Linked DNA regions of Homo sapiens: region 2 is linked to region 1. Evidence: promoter capture Hi-C in 16 types of primary human blood cells and fetal thymus (Javierre and others, 2016). All regions are on one chromosome and are shown on one strand. The core of a region is centred on a gene start or on the middle of the fragment in contact, and the rest is flanking DNA. Distances in the headings are between cores, read along the strand shown. Region 1 holds the start of KRT4 (keratin 4). Region 2 holds the start of KRT2 (keratin 2).

Region 1 (6,839 bases), core at 488-2,987:
AGTCACTACAGACTTTTTAAATAAGCTTACTTATCAATGGATCTGGCGTGTCCCTGTGAACCTGTGAACAACTGAGTATAGATATTTAAAACAAGGGCCCTGTACGCATTGTCTCACCTAAACTCCATTCTGCAAAGGACTTTCCTGAACTTTCCCTCTCTCTATGAAAAAATCTAGCCAGACAAACCAGGACAGCAGCTTAGCATGACATTTCCATGTTATGAGCCTCAGAATTGAAAGGAAAGCAGGTAAGGCAGACCGATCACATTTTGAACCCAAAAGGTAAAATGAGATGAGATGAGACAAGGATGCATCAAAGAGCCCTGAGTTTTTGCTATCACATCTGCATGTCCTATAGTCACAGTAAAACCTCTTTAAGTTACTATGGGTTTATTCAAACTAGCAAGAAGAACAAATATGCACCTTATTCTATTCCAAAAGTGTTCATTCTTGCCCCATATGTCGAAGCTGCCCAAGACTTTGATGCCTGGTGAACCAGGGCAACCTGGACCAAAGGGAGGCACTCATCCACCCAGTCATCAATCTTTGGATGACTCGGCTCTCTGGGGCTGCACTGCTCACTATCATCCATCATGCATGACCATAACTGAGCTTAAAGAACTTGAACTTCTAGACGTTGCATGAAAAAGGAAGTTGGGCTACAAAAAGAAAAGAGACCTGTCTCCTTTCTTCAAACAGACCCAGACATGAGCAGTGTTGTCCAGTCAAAGGAATGAAAAAAGTAAATTTCCAAGGCCTTGGTGAGACCTAGAATCTGCCACTGGAGCCAGTCCCTTTTTCATTTGCAAAATCAGCTTAGTTGTCTTCTGTTCTAAGAACAGAAGTGGCCACTGTTAAGTGATTAATGGGGTTAACTGCATTATATTCAAAACCAAAATCTGAGAAAAAGCAGAGAAATAATGAACCCCCTTTATAGCTGGGATGACTAGAGCCAGAAAAGCCAAATGATTTGTCCAGTATCCCACAGCCTGTCTAGGGAATTCCAAACACTTAACTGCCTTGAGCATCCCACCTTCCCACCAGCCACGGGACAAAAAGGAAGGCTCAAAGTCATGATGCCCCTTCAACAGCTGGAGAATTGGGGCCCAGGGAAGTTCAGTGGTCTCCCCAGCACCTGTGGCAGGCTCAGGTCTGAGACCCCAGGACTCAGGACCCCTCTCTTCTAACTGCCCCTCTCCAGCCGAGGACACAGCTCACCTTGTCGATGAAGGAGGCAAACTTGTTGTTGAGGAGCTTGATCTGTTCGCGCTCTTCCGTCCGGACTTTCTGGATCTCAGGGTCAATCTCCACGTGGAGGGGGGTGAGCAAGCTCTGGTTGATGGTGACCTCCTGAATTCCCCCAGCGGGGCAGACGGGGAAGCCAGGGCCACCCTTACCACTGAAGGAGCCCCCAAATCCACCACCAAAGCCACCAGTGCCAAAGCCTCCAGCACCCCCAAAGCAGGCACCTTGTCGTGACCCAGCCACACTCATGGAGATGCTTTTGTTCCCCCTGAGGTTGTAGAGGCTTCTGCTGCCAAATCCCCCAGAAGAGCATCGGCCAGCACCTCCAGACATGGAGACTGAGCTGAAGGCACCTCTCTTGCCACCGCCTACAATGGCCGAGCCACAGCTGAAGCCCCGGGGCCCGCCTCGGACACACTGCTGTCTGGCAATCATGGCTGCAGAGAGCGAGCTGGGAGCTATCAGAGAAGTGACAGGGCCCAGGCCGGTGAGTGCTGGAGCCCTCAGCCTTCGTCTCTTATATGTCCTGGAGCAGCAGGGCTTGGTTGCAGGGGCATAAAGGGAAAAATCTGAAACATCTCTGGGCTTGGCCCTTGGCACAAGCCCATCCTTCCCGCACCCGTTGAGCATGTCACTAAACACACCTACAGAAGTCATCTGGAGGGCACAGGTTACTGGATCCCATCACACTACTCTCTGGGAGAACCTGAACTGGTGCCCCAGGGCTTCCTAATCAGAAGCCCCTGCCTGGGCCCAGCGCTCCAGGCCCACACCCACTGTACCTCCATCTCGCTAGGCTCACAGCACCTCCCTCCTCCAGAAAAGACACCCCATCACCCATCCTCTCACCCCACAGAATGTGGAGTTAGACAGCCTGAGTTTGAGCGCACAGCCTGCCACCTCCTAGCTCTGCAAACCGGAGCAAGTCACCCTCTGAGGCCCAGTTGCTTTCCCTGTAAATTGGAAGTAATACAAATATTTGCCTTGCCACTTCTCAGGATAGAGTGAGCTAGTGATTAATGGAGTGCTCTGTAAACTGTCAAAAGCCACATGTATATTTGTCATTCTTAGCATTCTTATTCCTCCACATGTTCTTGGCTCCATGTACCTATAAAAAGGGGAAATATTCTGTATTCCAGCCTTAGCCTTCCAACCTAGATCCAGATTCACTTCAACTTGGCCAACAGCTACTGAGAAACTGCCAGGCATGGAGCTAGGTACTAAGGAGATGGGGGAAGACAAAACACCTCCCCAAAGAAAACCGTGACTGTCTTTCTCAGCCCTGGGTACCCATGCTGCCCCGCAGGCCTCCCTTCAATCTGTGCTTGCACAATTCTAGATGGGCGTTCTCCAGCGGGGTCTGGTGGTGTGCACTCTGCTGCTCCATTTGCTGTCCAGTTGTTTGCTAGGTGTGTTCTGGTTTTCTGTAATGGTGCAGAATTCAGGGCAGGAGTTCATAACTTTTTTGCTGCTGGGGATCCCTTTGGCAGAATGATGAAACCTATGGATCCCTTCTCAGAGCAATGTTTTTAAATGCAAAATCCTAGTTTTAAGCCATAACTTAAATTCTTCCCAACTGAACAGTAACAGATCTGTGTTCAAATCCCTCCTGTTGCCACTAACTAGCTGTATAACCTTGGGTGGGCCAACTAAGCACTCTAAACCCATCCAATATGGTTTGGCTCTGTGTCCCCACCCAAATCTCATCTTGAATTGTACTCCCATATTTCCCACACATTGTGGGAGGGCCCCGGTGGGAGATGATTGAATTATGGGGGCGGTTTCCCCCATACTGTTCTTGTGGTAGTGAATAAGTCTCACGAGATCTGATGTTTAATAAGGAAAAACCCATTTTGCTTGGCTTTCATTCTCTCTCTTGCCACCACCATGTAACAAGTGCCTTTTGCTTTCTGCCATGATTGCGAGGCCTCCCCAGCCACATGGAACTGTTAAGTCCAATAAATCTCTTTCTTTTGTAAATTGCTCAGACTCAGGTATGTCTTTATCAGCAGCGTAATAATGGCCTAATACACCATCCAATCCATCTTCTCATCTACCAAATGGGACACCTGCCTCACAAGGAATTAGACAATGTCCCCATGGTGCCTGGCATATAGGAGGTCAGCAGGCATTCATTCTCTTCTTTCCCAGGCTTTGCCATTGCCATTTACAGGGAGAAATCTGGTGTGTTTGTTCTCCCTCCTTTCCTCAATTCCTCATAGATGAAATGACCCCAGGTCTGAGGAAGAGCAGTCACCAGCACCTGGATAATCCCACAGACCCAAGCTGCCCCTAGCTGAATGAAAGCTGGCCAGGGAGAGAGTGAACGGCTGCCTCCATGCACAGAGAGAGGGCAGGGGCCAGTGCTGAGGACAGAGTGGTCAGGAGATCCCACCCCAGACGCAGGGCTGCAGGGAAGGCCAGGCTGGCTGGGAGTTCAGCCAGCTCCTTCTCCAGCCACTTCCTCCCTTGTCCCCATTCCCCCAACCCCTCCCTCCCCTACCTCGGGTCTGTCTCTGCCAAGATGGCCTCTAAGTAAGTGGAGAGGGGGTGGAGGGGCTGTGGCCATGAGGACTGGAGGCCCCAGGCCCCATCACAGGAGAATGCCCGCGTCATGGGTCAGTCCACCTGCAGTAGGTGAGCATTCTAGAGCCAGAACCATCTCCTAGAAGGAAGGGGTTGGACTTTCACTGATCCTTTCTGCCCAGATTCACCAAGCGCCGACTTCGTGCCAAGCTCTGTGCTGGATGCTTTACCTACATTTGATCAACTAGTCTACTTAGAGGCTCTATGGAGTCAGCACCATTAGCCTTCCTTACAGAAACTCAGAGAAGTAAAGTAGCTCCCAGGGTCACACAGCAGCACGTGGTGGAGCCAGGATTTAAACTTACATCAGTCTGGTCCCAAAAGTTCCATATTCTTTTTTTTTTTTTTTGGTTTTTGTTTTGGGTTTTGTTTTTGTTTTTTTGAGACGGAGTCTCACTCTGTCGCCCAGGCTGGAGAGCAGTGGCGCCATCTCGGCTCACTGCAAGCTCCGCCTCCTGGGTTCACGCCATTCTCCTGCCTCAGCCTCCCAAGTAGCTGGGACTACAGGCGCCCGCCACCGCGCCCAGCTAATTTTTTTTTTTTTTTTTTTTGTATTTTTAGTAGAGACGGGGTTTCACCGTGGTCTCCATCTCCTGACCTCGTGATCTGCCCGCCTCGGCCTCCCAAAGTGCAGGGATTACAGGCGTAAGCCACTGCACCTGGCCCAAAGGCTCCATATTCTATAGCCTCTCACTCACACTGTTCTGCCTGGTATAAAGCCACTCTGTCTAAATTGTGTCACAACCAATCCAGAATGTGCACCCAAATAAATCTGATGGAACTGACTGTTCGGGTCAAAGGGGCTCTGGGGGCACTAGCATCCCAGGGTCTATCGATTTCCACTGTTGCTCCTAAGGTGGGCATGGCTTGGAAGGAGGGTGGGAGCTACTGCAGGTCTTTGCGGGCTGCAGCTGCAGGAGCTGAGGAGACATGTGAGCCTCCCACTTGGGAAGCTGAGGTCCAATTGACTGGTTACCTGCCCCAGAGGACATGGCAGGGCCATCAGGATCTCACCCTGAGTGATGGCTGGAGCTCACCCCCCGGCTGCCTCACCTCAGCCTCTGCACCTGCCGTTCACTGCTTTCTTCTCTGGTAGCCCCTGGGATTTGATGGGGACTATCACAGGCCGGGGTAGGCTTTGCCTGAGCACAAGTGAATCCCTGAGATGGCTCATAGTGTGCTTATTGGGTCTTTTACTCTATGGCTGTAACACTCCAACACTAGGAGAAAATGGCATGGGTTCACTGCCCCTAGAGTTGTGTCTACTGCTTAGAACAAAAAGCAAGCCAGGAGCCAAGGGGATTTTCAGGGAAACAATATAGAATATGTAATCAGTCTTATTTTGTGCCTGTGGGGCACCCAAACCATGGAGCTACGATTGAGGTACTTCTCATGAAGGTGACTTGAGGTGTGCCATCGCTGATACAAGAAGGAAGATGAAGGAAAGGCAGCGGTGCCTCTTGGGTAGAAGGGATTCTCTCTTGGAACTACTGTTATATGCTGAACACTAGGTGCTTCTTCCAACAACCCAGTCAAAGAGGTGCTTTGCTATGTCCAGTTTGGAGCTGCAGATATTGAGGCTCAGAGGGGTATGTAACTTGCCTGAGATCACACAGCCAGGAAGTGGTAGAGATAGGAAGTCAGTACTATCTGTCTGACTTCAAAGCTTGTGACCTTACAATGTATAAAACGGTAGGTATAATGTTTTATATGAGTGACTGGCCCACACAGAATATGCAGGGAAAAAAATACACAGCAACTTATACAGCCCTGTACCTCATGGTCCACCAAGACAGCCATGGGGTCTGGCCAGCAGGCTGCAAGCTCTGCAGATGCAGCTCCGCTCCTTTTTGTCCTTACCCTCAGCACATGGTCAGTTGCTTGGTTGATGTGGCCCTGTCCTTACAAGTACCCAATAAGGTATGACACTGTCCTGAGGGGCCAGTTTTGTATCCTCCAATTAACTAAATCCAAATTAATTTCATGACAAACCCTACCATAAACCCAATCCAAACAAGAAGAAAGTTCTAGTCTAGAGCCACATTCTGTGTCCTTATTATTAAATCAGAATTGCAAGAAGCTCACAAAATCTTCAAACTGAGCCTGAGAAACCGAAGGTAGACCTAAGGAAGAACTTCCTATGCAAGAGCGCCTTTACACCCTAGAGTGAGAGAGAAAGAGAGATGAGTTTCTTTCCCTGAAAACGGGGAAAGACATTGCCTTCATATGTGGGCCAGAGGCAGGTGGCTGAACAAGGCGCCACTACCCAGCAGCCACAGCTGGAAGCTTGTCCCCTGCCCCTCCCCAGACCTCCACACGCAGATTCTGCTACTGCCCTCGGTGACCCTTCCTTGTTTGGCAGCTGTTCCCAATCTTTTCACAGAGGGATGAGCAGCCGACAGGGGTGTGGAGCCAGGCGGAGGGAGTGTTTGCTCAGGGCTTTCTGGGTAAGGGAGGCAAGCCCTTACATTCAGCCCTGGGATTAAGGGATCCTGAGGGCTTCTGTCACTCTCATCTCCAAACCCACTGTGTGGTGTGGGAAAGTGCTCCTGCCCTCCCTGGCCAGGCGGGCACCCTCACTCCATTCGGTCACCCAACCTCAACTGCCCCACCGGGCCTGAGTCATTCTTGGGGAACCAGAGACAACACGGGGATCAGAGATTCTGCAGAAAAGGGCCATCAGCGTTTTAGGGAGAGGCCAGTGAGGGCAATGAGAGGACGGGCACTCCTGAGAGCCAGGTATGGGGGTCTGTACCCAGGGGCTCCTCTTTCCCCGGGCCGGAGAGCTGCCCCTGCTGGCCTCCTACCCCAGGCATATACAGGCAGGGGCTTCCCAGCATGTTCTGGCAGCAAAAGCACCCTCATAAACAAAATCACGTGCACAGCCTCATGAGTAAAACAGATAAGGAGAGATGATCCAGTTGGTGCAGAGGAGGGACCATGATCCTTCTCACCTGCTGACCTCCCCCTGCACCCCTGAAAGCAGCCCTTAGGGTCCTCAGTTTGGA
Region 2 (6,017 bases), core at 450-2,949, 170 kb before region 1:
AGGAAGCAAAGGGTGCCTCTTTGAAAGTTAGCAAATGGTTCCATTTGTCACTCCAGAAACCTGCAAAGAACTGGGGCTGGCACCTGCTCCGGTCAGCACGTCCCCACCAGTCAGCACATTCCGAGACATCATCTCCCCCATTCTGGGTCACCCGGTGGAGGGCACAGAAGCCACTCACCCTATGGACCTAGAGACCAAAGTTTCAGACTGTCTAGGACTAACCTGTTTTCCCATGATTTTGTTTTCTCTTTCAGAAAAGACCAGGATGTTTAACTTACTGCTTAGTTTAATTTAATGTGCCTTATGCATCATTTCATGTTGATAAATGTGTAACTCTCCAATCATGCTTTATGTCCTGAGTTTCTGCTTGGGGAACACAGAGAATGTCAGTTCTCAGTTGTCAGGAGGGCCTGCCCCATTCTCTGCTTTCCCTGTCTTTGCCTCCAGCCCTGGCTCTGGGAGAGATGAGAGGAAGGGCCAGGGTCCCCTTCTCCCTTCCCAGTGCCCTCACCTGCACTCCTCGCCCTCCAGCAGTTTGCGGTAGGTGGCGATCTCCACATCTAGGGCCAGCTTCACGTTCATCAGCTCCTGGTAGTCACGCAGCAGCCGCGCCAAGTCCTCCTTGGCCTGCTGCAGGGCCTCCTCCAGGTCATTCAACTTGTTCCTGGCATCCTTGAGGGCATGCTCCCCACGCTGCTCGGCATCTGCGATGGCATCTTGCACATTCTTACACTATGACAGAAGGACAGAGAATGGATTCTGCCTGACGGAGGCGGACAGAGAGCAGAGGTGTTCGAAGTGCAGGAAGCCAGAACCACTGGCCCTGGGAGTGTTAGGTCCCCTCTGGAGTTTAGTCGCAAACAACTGTGCTAAGACTTGCCGCTGTCTCTGGCACATCTTCTTCCCATGTCACCGTTGATGACACCCTTTGGCTTTCCCCATAGTGCCCTTTGATCCTCACATCACAGGGCCTGAATCATGATCCCATTTTACAGATGGAAATGAAAACATTTGAAATGGTCTGCTTGGCAAAGCTTCTGCTGCTGATGGAATCCACTCTCTGCCTCTACCTTTTCTATTCCAAAGCTAACGTCCAGCCCCAGGCCAGCTGCCCTCAATACTCACTGCCCCTCTATGAAACCAGTCGGCTGGTGCTCAGGGCCTGTGCTGAGCACAAACGGGAAGCTCCATCGGCAATCTGCAGCAAATCAATCAAACTAACGTTTGCTCTATTTGTTATGACTCCCTTTTCCTCATATAAACAAGTGAGCACAATTCTTTCCCTTCGATAATCCTTACTTTGGAATGTCTATTAGAGCACTCTAAGAATTGTTATAATAAGCCATAAATTATGTTAAGCTGGGGAATTTGGGATCGATACATGCTAGAGTGCAATATCTCAGTGTCTCTCATCTCTCACATGCACACTCACACACAACCACACTCTCACGCACACCCAGAGACAACCTCCCGCCCCTCGCTGGACAGGGCTGGGCCTCACCTGCTTCTTCACATGTGCGATCTCCCCCTGCAGCCTCTGGATCACGCGGTTCAGCTCGCTGATCTCTATCTTGATCTCTTTCAGGCTGTCTCCATGTCTCCCGACAGTCACCTGGAGCTCCTCATACTGATATGGGGAGAAGAGGACAGTTTGCAAGGAAGTTCCAGCCTGGCTCACATTCCAGACTGACTGGAGTGAAGGAGAGCTGGTTACTGGTCCAGGGAGGGTCAACCCAGCTAAATGTCATGGCTGCATTCATGAGAGGTAGGGACTGTCTCACATGCCCAAAAGGACTTGGTGCCATTCTCAACATCCTTTCTTGGGAATGGTGCCCAACTACCATTAAACAAAAAACCAATAACCTTACTGTACACTTTCCAGCTGGGGGTGCAACCCAGCTCATGGCAGGGAGCTGTGGCTCTTCCTACATTCCCTCTACTTGCCTTGCTGTGGTACAGGGCCTCCGCTTCTTCCTTGCTCCTCTGGGCGATCTCCTCATACTGGGCCTTGACCTCGGCGATGATGCTATCCAAGTCCAGGTTGCGGCTGTTGTCCATGGAGAGGATGACGTTGGTGTCAGTGACACTCTGATGTATCTGGGATATCTCCTACAACACACAGGAAGGTCTGGTCATGACATCCTGCCATAGCTACAGGCAGACAGGAGGCCTCTGTCTCCCAGCATAAGGGAAACGCAGACCCTCAGACTAAGCATACACTAGGTGGGATGAAAATCATGTAACCGTCTACTCCTGGGCCTCTCCCAAGGTTGTCCTGAGAATTGTAGTGAGAGGCACCTGTATTTCTGAGCCTCCTAGTTAACATTCAGCACTTAAGCCAGTTATGGTAAGTGCCCCCAGACAGAAGCTTGTCCATGGCAAATACCTTAAATGGACTTCCTGTTTCAGAAATCATCTGTGCACCCTTGGGTTGGGGAGGGGGATAGGAGACAAATGCATTTTGACCTCTGAAGTACAGTAGGCACAGGAATGGGCACAGGGCTTGTCTCTTCCCCAGGGGAAATGGACATCTGGGGAATGGAGGGAGGGGAAGCTGTCCTGGTGTTTCCTGAACCTTATTCCCATAACATCGGAGGAGAAAATTCCTCACCCACAAGACCTATGCTATGAAAGCCCCCCCAGTGGCCTGGAATGATGGCAGATTGAAGTCAGCTGGTCCATAAACCCCACTTCTGCCACTTTTTCACCAAGCAGAAAGGACTTTCATTTGGTGAGAAGGGTGGGAAGTAAGGGACTGTCCCGGAGCAGCCTCCTTACCGCATCATAGAGAACTTTCAGAAACTCAATTTCCTGGTTCAGCAGGTCCACCTTGGACTGCAACTCCACCTTTATCATGTAGGCATTGTCCACGTCCTGCAAGAAAGGTTGAGGCCTCTGGTGTATGGTTCCCTGTACAGGCCTCTTCCTCTCTCTGCCACTCCCCTCTACTCAGTCCCTGCTGGCTCCTCTCTAAAATCCCAGGCTCCCCAACCTGATCCCTGTCCCCATGGGACTTCTTTTGTCGTGCAGTTTACCATACACCTCTGCCAGGGACTTCATGCCTACGTCCATGGCTCACAGCCCTCAGGACCATCAGAGCCTCGAGATGACCAAGCTTTGCCAACCAGCCCCTCTCTCCTGCTTGAGACACTGTGTGTTTCTACAACAGGATACGATGTTCTTTGTGGGTTTCCACAGTCCTCAGCTCTCTCATCCCGTCTGTCCATCTCACCTCTCCGAAATTTCCCCAGAATATACACCAAAGGCCCTGCAGGACCCAGCAGGAGAACCCTTGCTTTTGGCCTACAACCTCAAACCTTTGTCAGCACAACCAACAGCAACTTTAAGCAGGCATTCTAAGGGAAGTCCCATTCCTTCCTCAGCTCTTTAGAAGGAGAATACAAAGAGATTTTTGTGTTTGCATTTATCATGATTCAGTAGAGGCTTTAAGTGGGTTACTACTGGGAAGCACTCTACCAAAAATGCAGAACAGCTTTGAAAACTGTATCCAGAAGCTTGACCTACAGAGACAATTTTGTTTGCAAGAGAATGTGCCATGGGTCTCACTCCTTTCTCTGGCTGCTGCTTTTGCACTCACAGTTGATTTCCAAACTGGCTGCTTAGACACAATGGGGCTGTGAAGCACTCCTATCCCCACCCCCAGCCAAGACATTCTCTCGCTCACCTTTTTAAGCGTCACAAAATCATTCTCAGCAGCTGTGCGCTTATTGATTTCATCCTCATACCTATTGGGACACAGATGTTACAGCAGTTAGATTAGTTCCCCTTCATTTTTTTTCTTTTCCTTTTATACTGGATTCACCCCAAATGCCCCATTCTCTGGGAATATTACACACTTTTTAAATATCTAAATTGAAACTAAGATTTCCAAACTAAAGATATATTTTTATAAACTAACTCTCAAACATACAAAAGACAAAAATGATCTCTAAAGTCTCACTGTCTTCCTCACAAATAATCAACAAAGATACATATGCCTCTCCCCATTACCACCACAAATGCAACTGGGAGATGAATGGCTTTCCAGGGAGTGATCAAATGGCTCAGTGCAATGTTTATCTCCACTCAGCGTTTCACTCTGCCACCTACTTCTTCTTATAATCCTCCACAAGATCCTGCATGTTATTCAGCTCTGAATTCTGTGATGTTCTTTCTGCAGTGAGCCCATCCAGATATCTCTTGAGGCTGTCGATATACCCCTGGAAGATGGGCTCCAGGTTGATGGGGCGGGTGCCAACATTCATTTGTTGTAGCAGCTCCCATTTGGTCTGTAACACCTGGTTCTGCTGCTCCAAGAACCGCACCTGCCATGACCAGAAGGAGAGCACATGAGTTCTAGATCATCCTTCACACCAAGCAAGCCACGCTGGCCAGGGGCAGCTCAGGTGCTGCTTCAGGACCTCGAGAAGTGTCTGAGGCTGGATGCCGAGTCATGACTGGCAGAGCTTCTGAGCTCCCTGCTTTCGCCCCTGGAAAGTCCCACAGACTCCTAATGCTACATCCGGCTCTCTCCACGCAGAGGAGACTCTTTGCTGCTTCACTGCTCACTGGTTTGTTTGCAGCTGCTCCCAATACTCTAGACCATTTCCCTCCCCGCATCCTGGTTGAATTTCCAGCCAAGATCCCATAAATTCTGGGGAAAACCGAAAGCAGCCATCTGCTGGCACTGCTCGCAAGGGTGCTGAGTATGAGAGTCCCAGAGGGCAGGGCTCCTCAGCCTGATTTTTAAGAGCCTTGTAAATCCCTGCCTATTTCAAGGCAGATAAACCAAGACAGGTTCGTCTGCCTTGAAATAGGAGAAAAGCCAGTAACACTCCGAAGTGACACCAATAAAGACTTTATGGATCACAAAACTGAGAACGCTTCTCTTGAAGGCAGGAATTTCCTGCATTCCCAAGCAGATATTTCAGGTTCAGCTTCCCAGAGTTTAGTAATCACTGCTAAGGAAGGAAACACTATCTCAGAAGACGATGGCTTCCAAAACCTGCTGCTCCAGTGGCCTGTCCCAAGGATCAGTTCAATACTTGCCTATATCCATTTTTTATGGTTTTCAGAATTTTCCATAAATATTATTTATATGGACTGTAACAATAAGGTCAAAGGGACAAATGCTTCCTAAGTGCAGGCTGTTATGGGAAATGTAACCCACAAAGCTGGCGTCTTTTCCATCTGGAAACCGCAAATGACCCAGGCTACTGCGGTACACCACTGGCTCCTAAGAAATACAAATCTGTGCCATTTTCTTTTTGGTTGGCTCTGGAAGTGAAGTGGCCTGAGCATCAGTGGGAGCCGTCTTCTCCAGAGTCACCTTGTCAATGAAGGAGGCAAATTTGTTGTTGAGAGTTTTGATCTGCTCACGCTCTTGGGCCTTCACATTCTGGATCTCTGGGTCAACTTTCACGTTGAGAGGCTGCAGGAGGCTCTGGTTGACAGAGACTTCGTGGATGCCACCAGGGTATCCTCCAGGCCCAAAGCCACCAGGACCCCCTAAACCTCCAACACCACCAGGGCCCCCAAAACCTCCAAAGCGGCCTCCACCAAAGCCGCCTCCACCGAAACCACCACCACTGAAGCCGCTGCCACCTCCAAAGCTGCTGCCGCCTCCAAAACCACCTCCTCTGCCACCAAATCCACCAGCGGCGCCAAAGCCACCACCTCCTCCAGCCACACTAATGGAGATGCTCTTGGTCCCTCCAAGGCCAACAAGACTCCGACTGCCAAAGCCGCCTCCACCGAAGCCCCCGCCACCACCACCATGGCGGCTCAAGCAGGAGAAGCTGGAAGTTGATCTCCGGCTTCCACCAGACACCACAGCTGAGCCGCTGCTGAAGCCCCGGAATCCTCCTCCACCTCCTCCTCTTCCTCGAGATTTGCAAGAGATCTGACAACTCATGATGCCTTTGTCCAGGGAGGAAAGTCACAGGCTCTTGAGAAGAGTCAAGGCTGGAGACTCAACTGTGCTGCTGGGAGGCTTTCAGGGTCCCCTTATATACCTG

What was found. The method cuts DNA at HindIII sites, captures the fragments that hold promoters and counts their contacts. A CHiCAGO score of 5 or more calls a contact.
Region 2: a contact is called between a fragment that was not itself captured here and the fragment with the promoter of KRT4 in region 1, in 1 of 17 cell types (M2 macrophages). The highest score is 5.1, in M2 macrophages.

Annotation. Positions count from the first base shown.
Region 1 is chr12:52,812,379-52,819,217 of GRCh38, forward strand. It overlaps KRT4 (keratin 4), which reads right to left and starts at 1,738. Exons shown (of 9, transcript NM_002272.4): 1 at 1,219-1,738. The coding sequence starts at 1,680. RefSeq lists a silencer at 443-643 and enhancers at 809-1,310, 5,841-6,342. The HindIII fragment of the contact is 5,472 bases long and covers 24-5,495 here.
Region 2 is chr12:52,646,229-52,652,245 of GRCh38, forward strand. It overlaps KRT2 (keratin 2), which reads right to left and starts at 5,983. Exons shown (of 9, transcript NM_000423.3): 1 at 5,330-5,983; 2 at 4,111-4,325; 3 at 3,686-3,746; 4 at 2,779-2,874; 5 at 1,945-2,109; 6 at 1,502-1,627; 7 at 512-732. The coding sequence starts at 5,914. The HindIII fragment of the contact is 1,334 bases long and covers 1,033-2,366 here.